5 separate regions of the Homo sapiens genome follow, and all the other regions are linked to region 1. The links are contacts of gene promoters, found by promoter capture Hi-C in blood cells and fetal thymus (Javierre and others, 2016). All regions are on one chromosome and are shown on one strand. The core of a region is centred on a gene start or on the middle of the fragment in contact, and the rest is flanking DNA. Distances in the headings are between cores, read along the strand shown. Region 1 holds the start of PRKCE-AS1 (PRKCE antisense RNA 1). Region 2 overlaps PRKCE (protein kinase C epsilon). Region 3 overlaps PRKCE (protein kinase C epsilon). Region 4 overlaps PRKCE (protein kinase C epsilon). Region 5 overlaps PRKCE (protein kinase C epsilon).

What was found. The method cuts DNA at HindIII sites, captures the fragments that hold promoters and counts their contacts. A CHiCAGO score of 5 or more calls a contact.
Region 2: a contact is called between a fragment that was not itself captured here and the fragment with the promoter of PRKCE-AS1 in region 1, in 1 of 17 cell types (naive B cells). The highest score is 5.3, in naive B cells.
Region 3: a contact is called between a fragment that was not itself captured here and the fragment with the promoter of PRKCE-AS1 in region 1, in 1 of 17 cell types (naive B cells). The highest score is 5.2, in naive B cells.
Region 4: a fragment that was not itself captured here is called in contact with the fragment with the promoter of PRKCE-AS1 in region 1 in 2 of 17 cell types (total B cells and naive B cells); the score reaches 7.3 in total B cells.
Region 5: a fragment that was not itself captured here is called in contact with the fragment with the promoter of PRKCE-AS1 in region 1 in 1 of 17 cell types (total B cells); the score reaches 5.8 in total B cells.

Annotation. Positions count from the first base shown.
Region 1 is chr2:45,674,054-45,676,924 of GRCh38, reverse strand. It overlaps PRKCE-AS1 (PRKCE antisense RNA 1), which reads left to right and starts at 1,405. Exons shown (of 2, transcript XR_940049.3): 1 at 1,405-1,615; 2 at 2,018-2,871. All of the region lies in intron 1 of PRKCE (protein kinase C epsilon), which reads right to left. The HindIII fragment of the contact is 8,353 bases long and covers 1-2,871 here.
Region 2 is chr2:45,925,242-45,928,112 of GRCh38, reverse strand. All of the region lies in intron 2 of PRKCE (protein kinase C epsilon), which reads right to left. Among named protein-coding and RNA genes, the nearest start is that of PRKCE-AS1, 250 kb to the right of the region's middle. The HindIII fragment of the contact is 2,982 bases long and covers 11-2,871 here.
Region 3 is chr2:45,904,202-45,907,072 of GRCh38, reverse strand. The region is part of intron 2 of PRKCE (protein kinase C epsilon); the gene reads right to left. Among named protein-coding and RNA genes, the nearest start is that of PRKCE-AS1, 230 kb to the right of the region's middle. RefSeq lists an enhancer at 2,410-2,479. The HindIII fragment of the contact is 2,994 bases long and covers 1-2,861 here.
Region 4 is chr2:45,886,223-45,889,093 of GRCh38, reverse strand. The region is part of intron 2 of PRKCE (protein kinase C epsilon); the gene reads right to left. Among named protein-coding and RNA genes, the nearest start is that of PRKCE-AS1, 210 kb to the right of the region's middle. The HindIII fragment of the contact is 4,842 bases long and covers 1-2,871 here.
Region 5 is chr2:45,849,420-45,852,290 of GRCh38, reverse strand. The region is part of intron 2 of PRKCE (protein kinase C epsilon); the gene reads right to left. Among named protein-coding and RNA genes, the nearest start is that of PRKCE-AS1, 180 kb to the right of the region's middle. The HindIII fragment of the contact is 1,272 bases long and covers 721-1,992 here.

The DNA.
Region 1 (2,871 bases), core at 156-2,655:
ATTGGAGCATGAGCCCTCTGAGATTAGGGTACCTATCTAGGCATGTTCCTGGTTATATCCCAAGACCTAGCTTGATGGCAGGGGCTCCCTAATGATTTATTAAATGAATGATCTAGAAACTATGAAGAAAAGAGGAAAGAATGGAGACACTTGATACCTCCTTCCTTCCCCAACCAGCAGTGACTGACCACAGAAGGATGGGCCTGCATGGCCTTTACTCGCTCCCTCCTTAGAACCTGAGCTGAGCCTTCTATTACTCTCTTCATTATCACAACCTTTCATCACAATGGGGCAATATGTATGTCCAGTCAAGAATGAAACAGGCAATGGTGTTTGTACGGACTGGGCTACTTCCATGTATGGATCAGAGTTTATATCCCAATAGAACCATCTTCCTCTCTATCCATACTCTAGTCTTATAAACTTAGTTTTCCTGTTAATGCAAAAATATAATCCTTATTGACGTCATTCTGACCTGCATGTATTAAGAGAGGAAAAGGCTCTGTATCCTTTAAGAAATTATTAAAATGTTTTAAATTGTTTTGTTGCACTGGTTTCAGTTTAAAAGATCTCTTTTGCACAGCAACACTTCAATCACTAGAATACTTGCATTATGAGGCAAATAGTTACAAGAAACAGGCTGCTGGGGGAACAAGCACAGGTGAGCAATGGAAGGTCAACAGAGCCAAACACGCGGCAGAGAAGCAACAGAGGGTTCCATCTTGAGACTGGGAAACTTACCACTGATAATGACCATGTAATGACACCCCCAGTGAAGCTATCCTGAGGCTCCCTGTACTTCACAAGGCCAAGAAAATCCCGTCACGCCAATGGTAAACAACTTCTCAAAACAAACAAACAAAAAAACAAGTCAAGCATTGGTGTCTACTAGGCCATGATTTTAGAGCCAATGTAGAAAACATTGTAGGAGCTACTGCCAGGTACCGGTGCTGCTTGAATAAAAGCGTGGAGTGGAGGCAGCAACTATTGAAAAAGGGGAGTAAAATGCTGAGACGCTTCCACAGCCAAAGTTCACCCCTCCCCACCCACCTATCCTGCCAGCTGGAGGCTTCCTGGTGGAAGGCCACCTCTCACCAAAGTCAGGCCCATCTGTGAGCTGAGGGCCAGCTCCCCGGAGACCCCTGGGAATTCTGAGCAGTGCCAGATGACAAGCAGAGGCCTGAACTCTTCTGGCATGACCTTGGGCCCAGTACCTCCCCGCCTCCCCTCCTCCCACCTACAGTGATTAAAGATAACCCAGCCAAGCAGCCTGGCATGTTGAAAAGGAGCAGGGCTGGAGGGAAATGAGGAGGACCAAACCGGGAAATGCACCACTGAATTTCCTCAAACCACATGGACCTTAAAACTCGTCAGACCGGTTTAAAATTAGCCAATACCCAGGAGAATAATTCATTAAATGCAACTGTTATGATTCATTTAGAATTCACTCCAATTCTGAAATGATAAATGACAGTGCATTTATGTATAAATGACAGTGTATTCATCTCCCCAAAGCTGGTCACAAGTGCCCTCACTGCTCTGGAGTAAAACATGGGCTAGAAACAAGGAAGCAAAGACTTAAAAACAGCATCATGTTTATTCACTGGAGAAAAAGGTGAGCTGAGAAGAGCTGAAGGCCTGGGCTAAGGTGCTAAGGGGCACGCTGGGTCTTCCTGGTCTGGGGAAACGTTTTCTGGAAAGGAGACGGCTTAATGTACATCTACAGAGTGTTTTCTTGTGCTATTTTGTTTTGTAACTTACAGGGGATTTTTCTCTTTATAATTGATGAGGTCCAGTCTCCAAGATCTGCCTGCTGTCTTCCTGGTCAGCCAGGCTTGGAAACTCTCACCTCATCCCTTCCTTTCCTTCTCTGACATTTAATCAGCATTGAATTAAAATTAGGCATATGGATCACCCAAGGCAAATGGAAATTAAGATACTGGATTTATAACATGCATAATCCAAACACAGAAAATCTTGCTACCAAAAATAATCATGTCTCTCATCCATTTCCCAGACAAACAGTTCAACTGCCTGCTTCACTTTGCCTTCAAGTTTATCAAGATGAGGCCGAGAATTCTCATAAACTCCTCAAGGACACCAAAAGGAGTTCCTGTAGACTCACTCAGAGTCCTTTCCCTCCTCTCCCTCAAGCAGTGCCCACCTCTTTTCAGGAAGCATCTTCTCTTTTCCATTTGACTTTCATAAAGAAGCTGGAGTTTTATTTTTCCTTGGCCTCCAATCTGTGCTTTGGGCTGTGCCATAAAATTCCTCAGTAATTTATGACCTGTTTTTCCTTTAAAGTGGAGAAGCACTAATCCCTCACAGAGTGGGGAGACAAGCATTTCCAAAGTGAGGTAATCTAGAAATATATGCACTGACCACAGTGAGTTGGGCCCTGACTTACAATTGAAGGCTCATGTAAAGATCCCTAGCCCTTGACACAGAGTATGATCTCAGAAATAGCCTGGTCTCCAGTTAGTACCTGGTTTGACAGAGTCCTCTTGACCCAAAAGTCCATCTTTTCCTGTCACTGATATCTGAAAATTCCAGACATTGCCATGTCACCCTCCAGATAAAGGAAGGCCTCCTCCACAGCACTCTTCTAAAGCACCAGTCTTATATATCTCATTACGGCCATCTACCTCAGTGTAAATGAGTTTATACTCAGCCAAGAGGAAGTGAGGAATCCTGGCTGGGCCCCAGGCTTGGAGGGGCTCAGAAGTGGAAGGAGCGTGCACAAAACCTGAAATCAGTCTTTGACTCCTTCACATTTTCGCCGCAAGTCAACCCCAATGATCACGCTTACATCTTTGCAAGTAGCTTTTAAAAAATATTTTCCAATAAACACAAGGAAATGAAATATTGAGA
Region 2 (2,871 bases), core at 252-2,751, 250 kb before region 1:
TAGGAAAGCTTGGAGGGAGGTGAAAGGGAATCCTTGAAGTCAAGGAGTTTAGTGCTAGGGGTACTATCTTAGAGCCCAAAAGAACAAACAATAGCCAGATACTCTTCCTCGGCCCTGGGCTCATCAAAGATAAGTCTATGTACATTGGGGTCCTCCAGTACCACCCAGGCCCCCCCACCCTCTCCTGCCTCCGTGAGTGAAGGCTACAGTCACTTAGGAAGGCATACATCTACACGAAGCCTTGGGTATCTCAAAGACTATTTGAAATCACTGTGGAAAAGTTCTTCTAGAGCTAAGGAAAAATAAAGATGTATTTTTTTTTCTCAGCACACATCAGCTGCTAGCAATTATGTGTTTATCTATTTAATGGGAAAACAAATATTCAAATCCACTGCAGGAGAGAGTATCAGCCTCTATGCGAGAGATTTTACTTCCTGCTGATTTACAGTTCTGGAGATGAAATCCTCCCTTTCTCTAATGCTCCTTAGCCTGGGCTGCAGAATCAAATAATATGCCAGGCTGCATAATCTCTGGATCAGCAGTACAGACTGGCCCAGAGGTTTGGTCCTGGGGCACGGTAGGCAGTTATGGCCCTTGGACTCAGGCAGACCTGGATGCCTGTGGCTTTACTATGAGACCTGGAGGGAGGTACCTCTTCTGTTTATACATCAGTTATCAGCTGCAAAAATGGAGATAATACCTGCTTCATAGGAAGATTGCAATGATTAAATTAGATGATATACATAAAAGTGCTTAGCACAGAGCCTGGCACATTGAGGCATGTCAATGAATACTCGTCTCCTTCCCTTCTCTAGGTTCCAATACCACAAAAATCCAACTACATTTGTTAATTCACAAATTATATCTTTACAATTTCACCTCCCTCTTCTCTGACAACACCCCCCCCATGCACACTCACACATGGACTATACACATTCTATACTTCTTACCATCCTGTGTCCCGTGCACACTCATGCATGCACATATACACATTCTATACTTCTCACCATCCTTGTCCCATGCACGCTCACATGTGCACATATGCACATTCTATAATTCTCACCATCCTGTGTCCCATGCACACTCACACGTTCATGTATACACATTCTATAGTGCTCACCATCCTGTGTCCCATGCACGCTCACACATGCACATATACAGGTTCTATACTTCTCACCATTCTGTGTCCTATCCACACTCACACATGTTCATATACACATTCTATACTTCTCACCATCCTGTGTCTTGTGCACACTCACACATGCACACACCACACATTCTATACTTCTACTATCCTGTGTCCTACTTTTCAGCCCAAACCTCTAAGCTCAAATTCTATTTCCAGAAATCGTTTTTGGTGCCTCTGGCCCACAGGAGCCCCTCTGTCTGAATGCTTCTAGCCACGGCTGTCCATGTCACAAAATGTTCGTTAATAAGAAACACAGTAATTTAGTAATGACCAAAACAAAAAAAGAAAGCACTGGCTTACAAATCCTTCTCAGCCTCCGACTTTCAACTGGAGAGAATACTCTGCCTACCTCACAGTTTTGCTTTAGGATCAAATAAGATGACCTGTATGGAAGAGCTATGTAATATGCCAGTACTACGTTAAGGGCAACATCCCCTCCTCTTTATCACCACTATCACCGCCATTACCACCACCACCATAACAAAAGATCCTGAGGATGGGGGGGACTCACCTAACTCACTGATTTCACCAGCTCCTCCTCGACTTGCTGTGTAATGGAAACCTACTTGTGAAAGGCTTTTATTTGAAGACAGTGGTTATGTATGGCAGTTGCCCTGAAACAAAGCACTGATTCCCCCCTCTGCCCATATTCCTCTTGCCATGGCCCTGGAGAAAGGAAAATTCAAAATTAGCCAGCCAAGTTCCCTTGCATATCATTGCAGGCCTCAGCAGTCAGCCGCTGAGCAGCAGGCCGAAAATTCATGCTTGCCAACTTTGTCATTTCTCAACATTTGAGTTATTTATACTTCACAAGTCTGTGAGATGCAAGTCCCCCATTTCCTGGGATGTAGAAAAAAACTGGCACAATATTCTAGAAATTCCCAAGCCAAAGTGGGTGGCACTGAGGCTTCGAATATTCAGCCCCACTGAATTCTCCCAACCTGATTCTACCCACTGAAGTTAGCCTTGCCTCCCCCACCGAATCGCACCCTCAGGTTATCCCTGGCCTGGGCCAGGAATGACTACCCCAATATTTTATCTGCTTATGCAAAACCTTTGAGTCCTAGCTCAAGTCCCACTGTTGCTGGAAGCCTGCCAGAGTTTGCCCAGCCCACGATGATTGAAAGCAGCCTTCTGTCATCAACATCACAGGTCTTAGAAGAGTCCTAATAGAAGTCAGCTCAGTCTAGGTGATCCTTGGCCAGCTTGTGAGCTCCCCGAGCTTATGCTCTAGAATTCTCCCTTGGGTTCACTACTCGGATGGATGTATCCTAGGTACACAGTAAATGTTTACTGATGCTAATTGATGATTAAAATGCAGCATGCTTGGCCGGGCGCGGTGGTTCACGCCTGTAATCCTAGCACTTTGGGAGGCCGAGGCGGGTGGATCACCTGAGGTCAGGAGTTCGAGACCACCCTGGCCAACATGGTGAAACCCCATCTCCACTAAAGATACAAAAGTTAGCTGGGCGTGGTGGTGGTGCCTGTAATCCCAGCTACTCGGGAGGCTGAGGCAGGAGAATCGCTTGAATCTGGGAGGTGGAGTTTGCAGGGAGCCAAGATCATGCCATCGCAATCCATCCTGGGTGACAAGAGCAAACTGTCTCAAAAATAAATAAATAAATAAAAAATACAGCATGCTTAGAGAGAAAAGGGGAAATGAGTTATCAGGATAATATGCT
Region 3 (2,871 bases), core at 115-2,614, 230 kb before region 1:
CACTTAGACCTCCGACGCCTAATTTTGGAGCAACTGGGGCCCCATCCAGCCTGGTCCCTGCAGGGGATTATGGGGAGACACTGCATTTCTCTCCTACTGTGTTCTCTGGGCCCACACTCACAATGCAGCTCCTTAAAGAAGGGCGGCAGGAGAAGCCCATGAAACACTGTCCCAGCCAAGCGCAGGGTGTGACCCATCTCTGAAGATGTTCTGAGTATCAAACAGAAGTTCCCATCAGTGCTGGCCCCAGGCCTCTGCAGGGTAGGCACATACAGCAGGCACCTCAGAAGCTGCCGGCACATTGATGCCCAGAGCTGCCGCCTGATGGAGGGTGGGCCAGCAGCAACAGATCAAGACCTTGGTTCCTGCTGCCTCCCACACAGAGCACATGAGTAGAGGGGAGCATCACCCTGTCAAGGCAGAGATAGCTTCCCCCAACCTAACCCAGCAGAGGTAAGATCAAAGGACGGCCCTGGAATCCCATCAGACAGGCCCATGCTCAAAACCAGAGGAAAGGTGTTTGGGGAGACACTGGAAACCCGTCCCCCTCTTCCCTGCCCTTGAATTAGAGCCATGCATAGCACCACAGGTAGAAAGGACTTGTCTTGGTTTAACTGTGGGTGTTCCGTTTTTGCTTTAGTAAATGTACAACTTTAAGTCTTCAGAGTACCTCACAGCAATTCTGCAGCTGAAGATCCACAGGGGTTTAATTAACCCAATTGCCTTTGACTTCCTGCCTCCAGAAACCTGTTCTCTGCACCTTGGCAATGTCTTGCCCCAAGCAGAGCTGCCTATGCCCTGTGAGCAGTGCAGCCTCCTGGACTCAGCACCAGCACACCAGCGGTGATCCAAATGACCAGAAGATGCCCAGTAGGCCAGGTGGTTGAGATTCTTCACCTAGGTCTTAGCAATCAGCTAGCGGCTTTCCCTCCCTAGCTCCAGCAATGTGTCAGGCAGAGTTGCGGGGAGCAGGAAAGCCGCTGCATCTGGGTCTACCAAGTTAGGATAATTCATGTTAGATTCCAGCATGCTATCATGATACCAACCCACGCTCCATACCCGGGTCATGTGGGTAGGGGAGGAGGGTTGAAAGCGCATCACCGCTGAAGATAGCCTGCCCACCCCGGCCCTTCATGTGGGCAGACACCATACCCCGCACAAGCACATCCTTCCTCCCAGGGAACCTCTTGGAGTAAAGACCTTCAAGGAAATTATTCCCACTGTGGGAGCCACATCTCACCCAATTTGTAACTGAGTACAGAGTTGAGTAAGCAGTTCAGGTCAACACGTGTGTTCAGGGACTATAAAGAGCATGGGCCGGTCTCCATTTACCCTTCAGTAAACATCCTATCTTTGTAGATCACAGTTGCAGTGTTCCACCACCTGGCATCCACCCTCCCAGCATCAGAGGTTCCCCAGCTAGGGCCCCGGCCAGCCCTCAGCCCCTTAGAAAGGACTTGCAGGGCCAGGATACACAGAGCCCGGTGAAAGCCCTGCTTTGCCCAGCTTTTAGGAAAGCTCACAGGGCTCCAATGTGCTTAAGCTGTGTTTTACCAGATGGCAGGGTGTTTTTTACCTGATTATTAAAGCCATAGTCTACTATGGCCCATCAACAGCCAATTTGGCCTCAGCAAAATAGATTTCAGCTCTCTCAGCACTAGTCTCCTAGCAATCAGCTCATCAATATGTATAATGTTTAGAAGCTGGATATTGATTGTGGAATCTAATGGACTCATTCAGGGTTCACCTTGACCTCTGAGTTACTTTTTTTTTGGAGCTTCCCTGTTTTCCCACTACCAGATTCCAAAACTGGGTTAGCGTGGGCTATGTTGGAGAGCCAGCCAAGAGGTTCCTGAGGCTTGGCCATAAGTCAAGGATGCTCTTGAGCCAGGGTTTGCCCTAGCCAGTGTGAGATGGCCTGGACTACGGCCTGCCCCAGCATTACTCTGAATTAACAAGGAGCTGCTGTTGCCATAGGATACAGCAAGCACCAGTGGTGTGATTAACACCGTAGCATCCAGTGAGTCCTGTGTGTCACCGTGCCTGCTGAAGTGATGTGGAGCCCCTGTCGCTGTCTGTACAATGGTCAACAAAGGCTACCAGCTCTCCATGGTCCACGCCCGGGACCTCACACGTGGACCCCCAGCTCCCCAGGTTCCCCTGACTCCTCCCCCAGGGCTCACCAACACATTCACAGCACATAGGCTCACCCAGCCCCCCTCTCATGGGTCCCTGCCATCAGGAGAATGTCCCATGCAGGGCTGGAGAAAAGGCAGGCTTCTGGGGCAGCGGGGAGACAGCAAGAGTCTTGGGAAAGAGGAGCGCATCTGGGACAGGTGGCCCAGGCAACCGGGGGAGACGGTTTCCAGAAAGGGATTAGTTTGATTCTTTTTCTTCCTGGTGAGATCCCCGAGCACAGCCCACTTACAGTAAGCCCTGGCCAGTTAGTAATCATCAACGCACATGGAGCTAAGACATTTCGCTTCTTGGCAGGGGAAGAAATGCCCAGAGCCCAACCCACCGAGCACGCCTCTGCCTTCTCAAAAGGCTCATCTCATCCAGAGCCAGCACAGAGACATGACTTTTTAAACCATTGTTTCATTTTCACATGTGATATAAGTCTGTGTTCTCCATTACAAATACCAAAAGTGAGAGGTGGTACTGTTAAGAAACCTCATCTTCTCCCCCTGTGATTTGCCCTGGATGGGCACGTGCCACCCCCATAGTGTTCAGCACAGGCAGGGAACTTGGAGTTCTTTTGGTTTCAAGACTTCTCGGTTCGCACGCAACCGGCTTCTTTCTAAGAAACTGTTTTGTCTGTTTGTTTGCATTTTTAAGAGAATCTAAAAAGCTGAAAAGCTTTTTTAGTAA
Region 4 (2,871 bases), core at 95-2,594, 210 kb before region 1:
TTCTATAACAGAGCAACCCAAATGCTATGTGGTCTACAGATAATTAGTATTTTGTTGTAATTTCTAATTATGATCACAGGTTACCTCTTTGGGGGTATCTCAGGATAAGTCTCAGGCCATCTGAATTCCTGAGAGAACCCCACACGGGCTGGTTTTGCTGGTCAAGGTCTCCCCACTTTTGATTCTCCTTGAAGGGCAGAGCACCATCTGTACTTGAGGAAATCTTATCATCTTGACAGTAAACATTCCTGATGGAGGCTATTGAAAAGGTTAACTCCCTGGAAATCAGACAAGCCTTTTCTCCACAGTACTCCCTGGCTTGCTCTTTGGAAGAGTATTTCTGGCCAGGTGCGATGGCTCACACTTATGATCCCAGCACTTTGGGAGGCCAAAGCGGGTGGATCACCAGAGGCCAGGAGTTCGAAACCAGCCTGGCCAACATGGTGAAACCCCCATCTCTACTGAAATTACAAAAATTAGCTAGGCATGGTGGCAGGCACCTGTAATTCCAGCTACTGGGGAGGCTGAGGCAGGAGAATTGCTTGAACCCAGGAGATCGCGCCATTGCAGTCCAGCCTGGGTGACAAGAATGAAACTCCAGCTCAAAAAAAAAAAAAAAAAAAAAAAAGACTGTTGGGAAATACTACTTCTGCATTTTTTAAAGATGAGGCATGAGGCTTTCCAGTGGCCAAATGTTTGGGGAACCCTTGTATGCTGTATCCACATCTAGAGATTCACAACAAACATTAGCATAGTAAAGGCTTGGCAATTAAGACAGCTTCTTAACATATTGTTTCCCCAAATAATACACAGTGAGACTAGAGTTCTCCAGAACTCCTTGGGCTGTTGCAACTACAGCTTAACAAGTTTCAAAGGAGCTAAGCAGGAGCTAGAGGACAAACCCAGCGCCTTTTGCCACTTTTAATTCTTTGCCATCTGTTATATCTGGGATCATCCACACACACATTCCCCAAAATATTCACAACGATTCCATGTTCTGGCTATAACCTCAGTTCTGTTTTCATCTGCTGACTCTGGAAATCTAGGTCCATTTCTAATGATCACAGATCATGGGAGATAACAGTGGATTGGCTTCCAGCATACATTCTATCCTTCTAGTGTGCCCACCTCTCCTATGTGGGCAGAGGATGGGAAGCTAAAGCCAACTCTCAAAGTCCCTGCAGCTGCAGTTCCAGATATGATTTCAGTTGGGCCAGTTAGATGTGCTTTTGTGAAATTTAGAACGCCAAAGTGAGGCAGAGACCACATTTTGGCAGTAGCTGCCATTTGCTCAGCAAGCAAAGTCCAAGAGGCACCTGGTTCTTCTATGACAGTTTTAGCCAATGTTGCAGCATCCAGGTACCAACTTTGTGGGTTCCAGGAGGCAGGACCAGGACATCATTTGCAGATGCTGATCATAGCTGATGTGGCATGGTTCTAGAACCATAAAAGTCATGGCTTCCTGATTGTGGGACCCTCTCAATCATGGCTGTTGCAATGTGGTTCTGGAGAAGTGGCTTCATCTGTAGGAGTGGCAACAGCTTTCTTGGTGGTCTAGTTCTGTAGTGTGGTTCCGGGGTACTTATTCCTGAAACCGCCACCTAGAGACCTTTGTCTTCAGAACTCTTCATAGTTCTATAAGCCATTTAATTCCTTATAATAAATCCCTTCCTCTTGTTTGCTGTGATATATTCTGCTTTCTACAACTGAACCTCGACCTACACCCTAACTCAATCTGTGTTCCAGCAAGGATGATCTAGCTTCTCAGTTTCATCTTGATGGCTGTGGAATTTCAGACACAGATCGCTATCTATTGTCCATCTAGGTAGGAAGCCTTCTGCACGGTTGACTGTGGCCAAAATGCTGAGAGTATAACCTGCAAAGCTGACTTTCTGCAACCAAGCATGTATCCTGGGTCAGGCCCAATGGGAGGCCCTGCCTATCAAGCAGGAACGAGGCTAAAACTTCTGGAGGAGCAACTCTGTTATAAGCCATTACAGATAGACACCATGTAAAAACCCAGGCATCAGAGTTTACAAGAAGGAGCAATACTCCTGGGTTCTAATTCCAGGCCATATTACTTAAACTCTGAGCTTCTGACCCCGTTCTGCCACGTGAGGCTAGTGACATCGTCCACCTCACACAAAGATAGGAAAGAACTTGAGAGTAGACCCGAAAGGTCTTTGGAAAAAACTATTCTAGTGAAGAATGACATTTATTACTACTACTATCATTACTAGCATTCAAGAATCATAATCAAGAAAAGAGGGACCTTTTCCCACACTTTTAAAGGCACTTTCTAAGTCTTTAATACTCATAACTTTTCAGCACATTGGCATTTAAAGAAAAAGGTTTACGAGCTTCATAAAAAATCAGCACTCGAAGTGCAATGCTTCCTTTAGATTATAGCCAAGCATTAGAAAGGTTTGAAAAAGTCATTTGACTTCAGCATTGTCAAGACTCATTGCAGGGTTACTGTTATCACGTCAGCTGTATTTTTGTGCTATTCTCCAAGATGGCTGGACTATTTCCTGTGCCCATGTAGTTAGGTAGTTCTGGGTTTTTACTGTTGCTGTTTATGTTTAAGCAAGCCTGTTGCTTCACTTTTTAATGCAATAGAAGTCAGCATGGCAGGTTTGTTTTACTGCTAGCATTAAAATGCCAAGTCCCCTCTAAGCAAATCCTCTTCACACAATCTCATAGTGTGCTCTAAGATAGCCAGACGGTCATGGGCAGGGGTTCTCAGGAAGAGACAGAACAGGCAGGAAAGCAGACAGCAGCCAGACACAGGCTACGGAGCTCAGAGTGGGAGTGGGTTAGGAATTGGGACAGTTGACAGAGAGGAAATGAGAGTCACCTGGAGCCAGAGCT
Region 5 (2,871 bases), core at 107-2,606, 180 kb before region 1:
CGGGTTTTTGTTGCAGAGAACATTTCTCCCTTTGAACTAAACATCACCACTATTTTCAATATCAGGAAACACACAAACTTGAATGTTTGGAAAGTAGGTATGACCATCGGCAGCTGACTTGCCCTACTTAGCTGGGTAGAAGGGCAGAGCTAATGAAAGCACTCTGTCTGGGGAGATGACCAAGTTTGGGACAAGTACCAGCGGAGGCTAAATGCCGGAAAATGCTGCCATCAGAAACGCCACAGTGGGATTGTCTGTCCAGCGAGGTGCAGGCAGGGCTGGCAGGTGGAGGCAAGTGGTTCCTGGAGTTACTGCTCTGAGGGGGTCTTGCCTCACCCATTTTGCGGGAGCCCAGGCCACCTGGCCCACCTGCCTCTCCATGGCAGGAGCACTCAGTCCTCGGTGACAGGCATAGCCCGAGGGAATCCTAAATTTCAACATAGCCCTTTATACATTAGAGGTGTCTATCAAGCAATAAATGAACGGAGAGCATTCTTTGTGGAGTTCCCTGCCATTAGACGTGGTCTGTGGATTCAGTGAGTCACTCCTCTCTGGCAGGGTTTGCTGGAGCCTCTTGTAGCCTCTGGCCATGGGCAAGTCACTCTGTGAATGGGAATGGTCACATTTCTATATAATTCAATTTTTTTTCACAATTTCTAAGTAATAAAAAAATTAATAGCTCATGCACATACATGGGAAAGAAAAACAAAATAATAAGCTTGACAAGAAATGTCTCATCCTTTCCAAATTTTCCCTTTCCTTTCCCCAGAGACAGCCACTGTTCTCAATCTGCTGTGTATCCTTGCATAGACAACCTGCAAACACACACACATACCCCTCCCAAACACACACAAGCATATCCACTTGAATGTAAGCCCCATGAGGGCAGGAATTTCTGTTTCTATTATTCACTTCTGTGCCCCCAGTTCTGAGAAGAGTAACTAGCATACAGAAAGTGCCTAACAGCCATAGGTTGAATGAGTCAATGTATACATCACATGTCTTCCTGAAAAGTTCAAATTGTGGTCAATCAAATACTAGTCCCTCTTTATTTTATCTCCTGTTCAAATGAATCTTCAGTGGGCCGTGGCACTATTTCCTCAACCAAGGAAAGAGGATAACTGTTGGTACCTGCATTTCAGGGTTGCCATGTGGATCAGTGATCACGTGGAAGTGTTTGTGGCTGTCATTTACTGACTGCCTACTCACAGCAGAGCCTGCAAACAGAAGGGAGGCTCCTTGGTGGTCCCACAGCACCCTGCCCTACCAGTAGCTACCCAACAGCTAAAGCACACGATGATGCTTACTGGTCTATTGCTTGCCTCCTTCTAGCAGAGCATGAGCTTCCTGACAGCAGGCACTGTGTTCATTAGCTCTACATCCCCAGGGCCTCGTATATATTAGATAAGCAAATAAATGATGCTTCCAACTGAAGAAATGGAGGATGAGGGGGAGACAGAATAGGTGATTCAGAGACACTCATTCTCACCTGTGTGCACTTGGGCACATGTACACCCCTACACTGGCCCCTATGAGCTCACACCAAAGGTTTAAATAAAGGAGGAAGATAAAAGCCCCAGTGTCAACAGCTCGATTAAAAATGGTGAATGCACTTGCTTGTGAAAACATGCATGTTTCAACAAAGCTAGGTAATAAGGAAAATCAATAAAACTGTTAGCACTGGCCATTTTCAACTGGATAAAAGAATAAAGTAATAGGTCCTGAAAGACAGACAACTCTAAATTAGGTTAAATGAATGGAAATACCCTTTCTTTTAAGCCAAATCATGAAGACATCAACAACAATAAATGATTAAATTAGAACCCATTTTGGGCCAGTATGATCTCAGCTGCAAACAGGAATTTCCAGAAACAATCTTCTTTATAGGACACAGAAATGATACACAGCAAGACAACGGAGATAGAACTAGAGGTCATGTGGGACCCACTTCTTGACCAAGGATCTATTAGAAATCCACCTTTCCAATAAGCTTATTTCTTCACTGTAACTATTCTTCCTTCAATTATTTTATTGGTAAGACAGGCACACCAGTCAAAAGGAAATATATATCTACGCTCCTGTAATGGCAGAGGGGAAGGAGGCTCTAGTTGTGATCAAAAGAGCTCTGCTCTCCAAACACTCAAGATTCAGTTCTGTTTCTCATCTGCTAATGGTTGGCATTTGGCGTTGTTAACCATGGGTGATTCATTTCAGAGGCACTGCTGTGCATCTAGAGGCTATTTGGAAGGAAATGAGGGTTTCTTGGCTTATGTCTCATCAAGCATCTTAGCGATGTCTCTTTGTGACATTATAAACTCCTTGATGGGGGCTTGGTGCTCACTGTTTTCCAGCTGATCCCCTTGGTCTCATCTGGTGCATATAGTCACTTCTGGGAACAAGAATTTATTCCATCAGGACCAAAAATAGAGCCAAAAATCCCAAGACACAGAGGCTTGCTCCCTGGGTCTGAGAATCAGCCACAGGAAGAAGTTATGCCGGGGTGGGGTGTGGTAACGTGGGGTGCATATTGTAAGATCAATGTTGTTGAACATCTGGATTTTGTTATTTTGTTGTTTTCTGGGCTCCGTGCACTGCCAGGGGATTTGACATGTCCATGCATGTCTAGGGAGTCTGTGTGGTGAACAGGATCAGGATCTTATTGCGTAAGGCACAACATGTGAGGGAGCCTGATCAGCACCTTGGAGCTGGTGTCTGGCTTTGAGGTCCCCTGTTTGGGAAGCTGGAGGCTCTCCTTAACCTCTCAAGTGACATTTCTTATTAAAGACTGAAGAGAATTTGAAAAGAGAAAGCGTGGGAGTATCTGGGCTTGATTTTGGGGCACTTTTGAAAGGATGGAGAGGAAGAGAATGC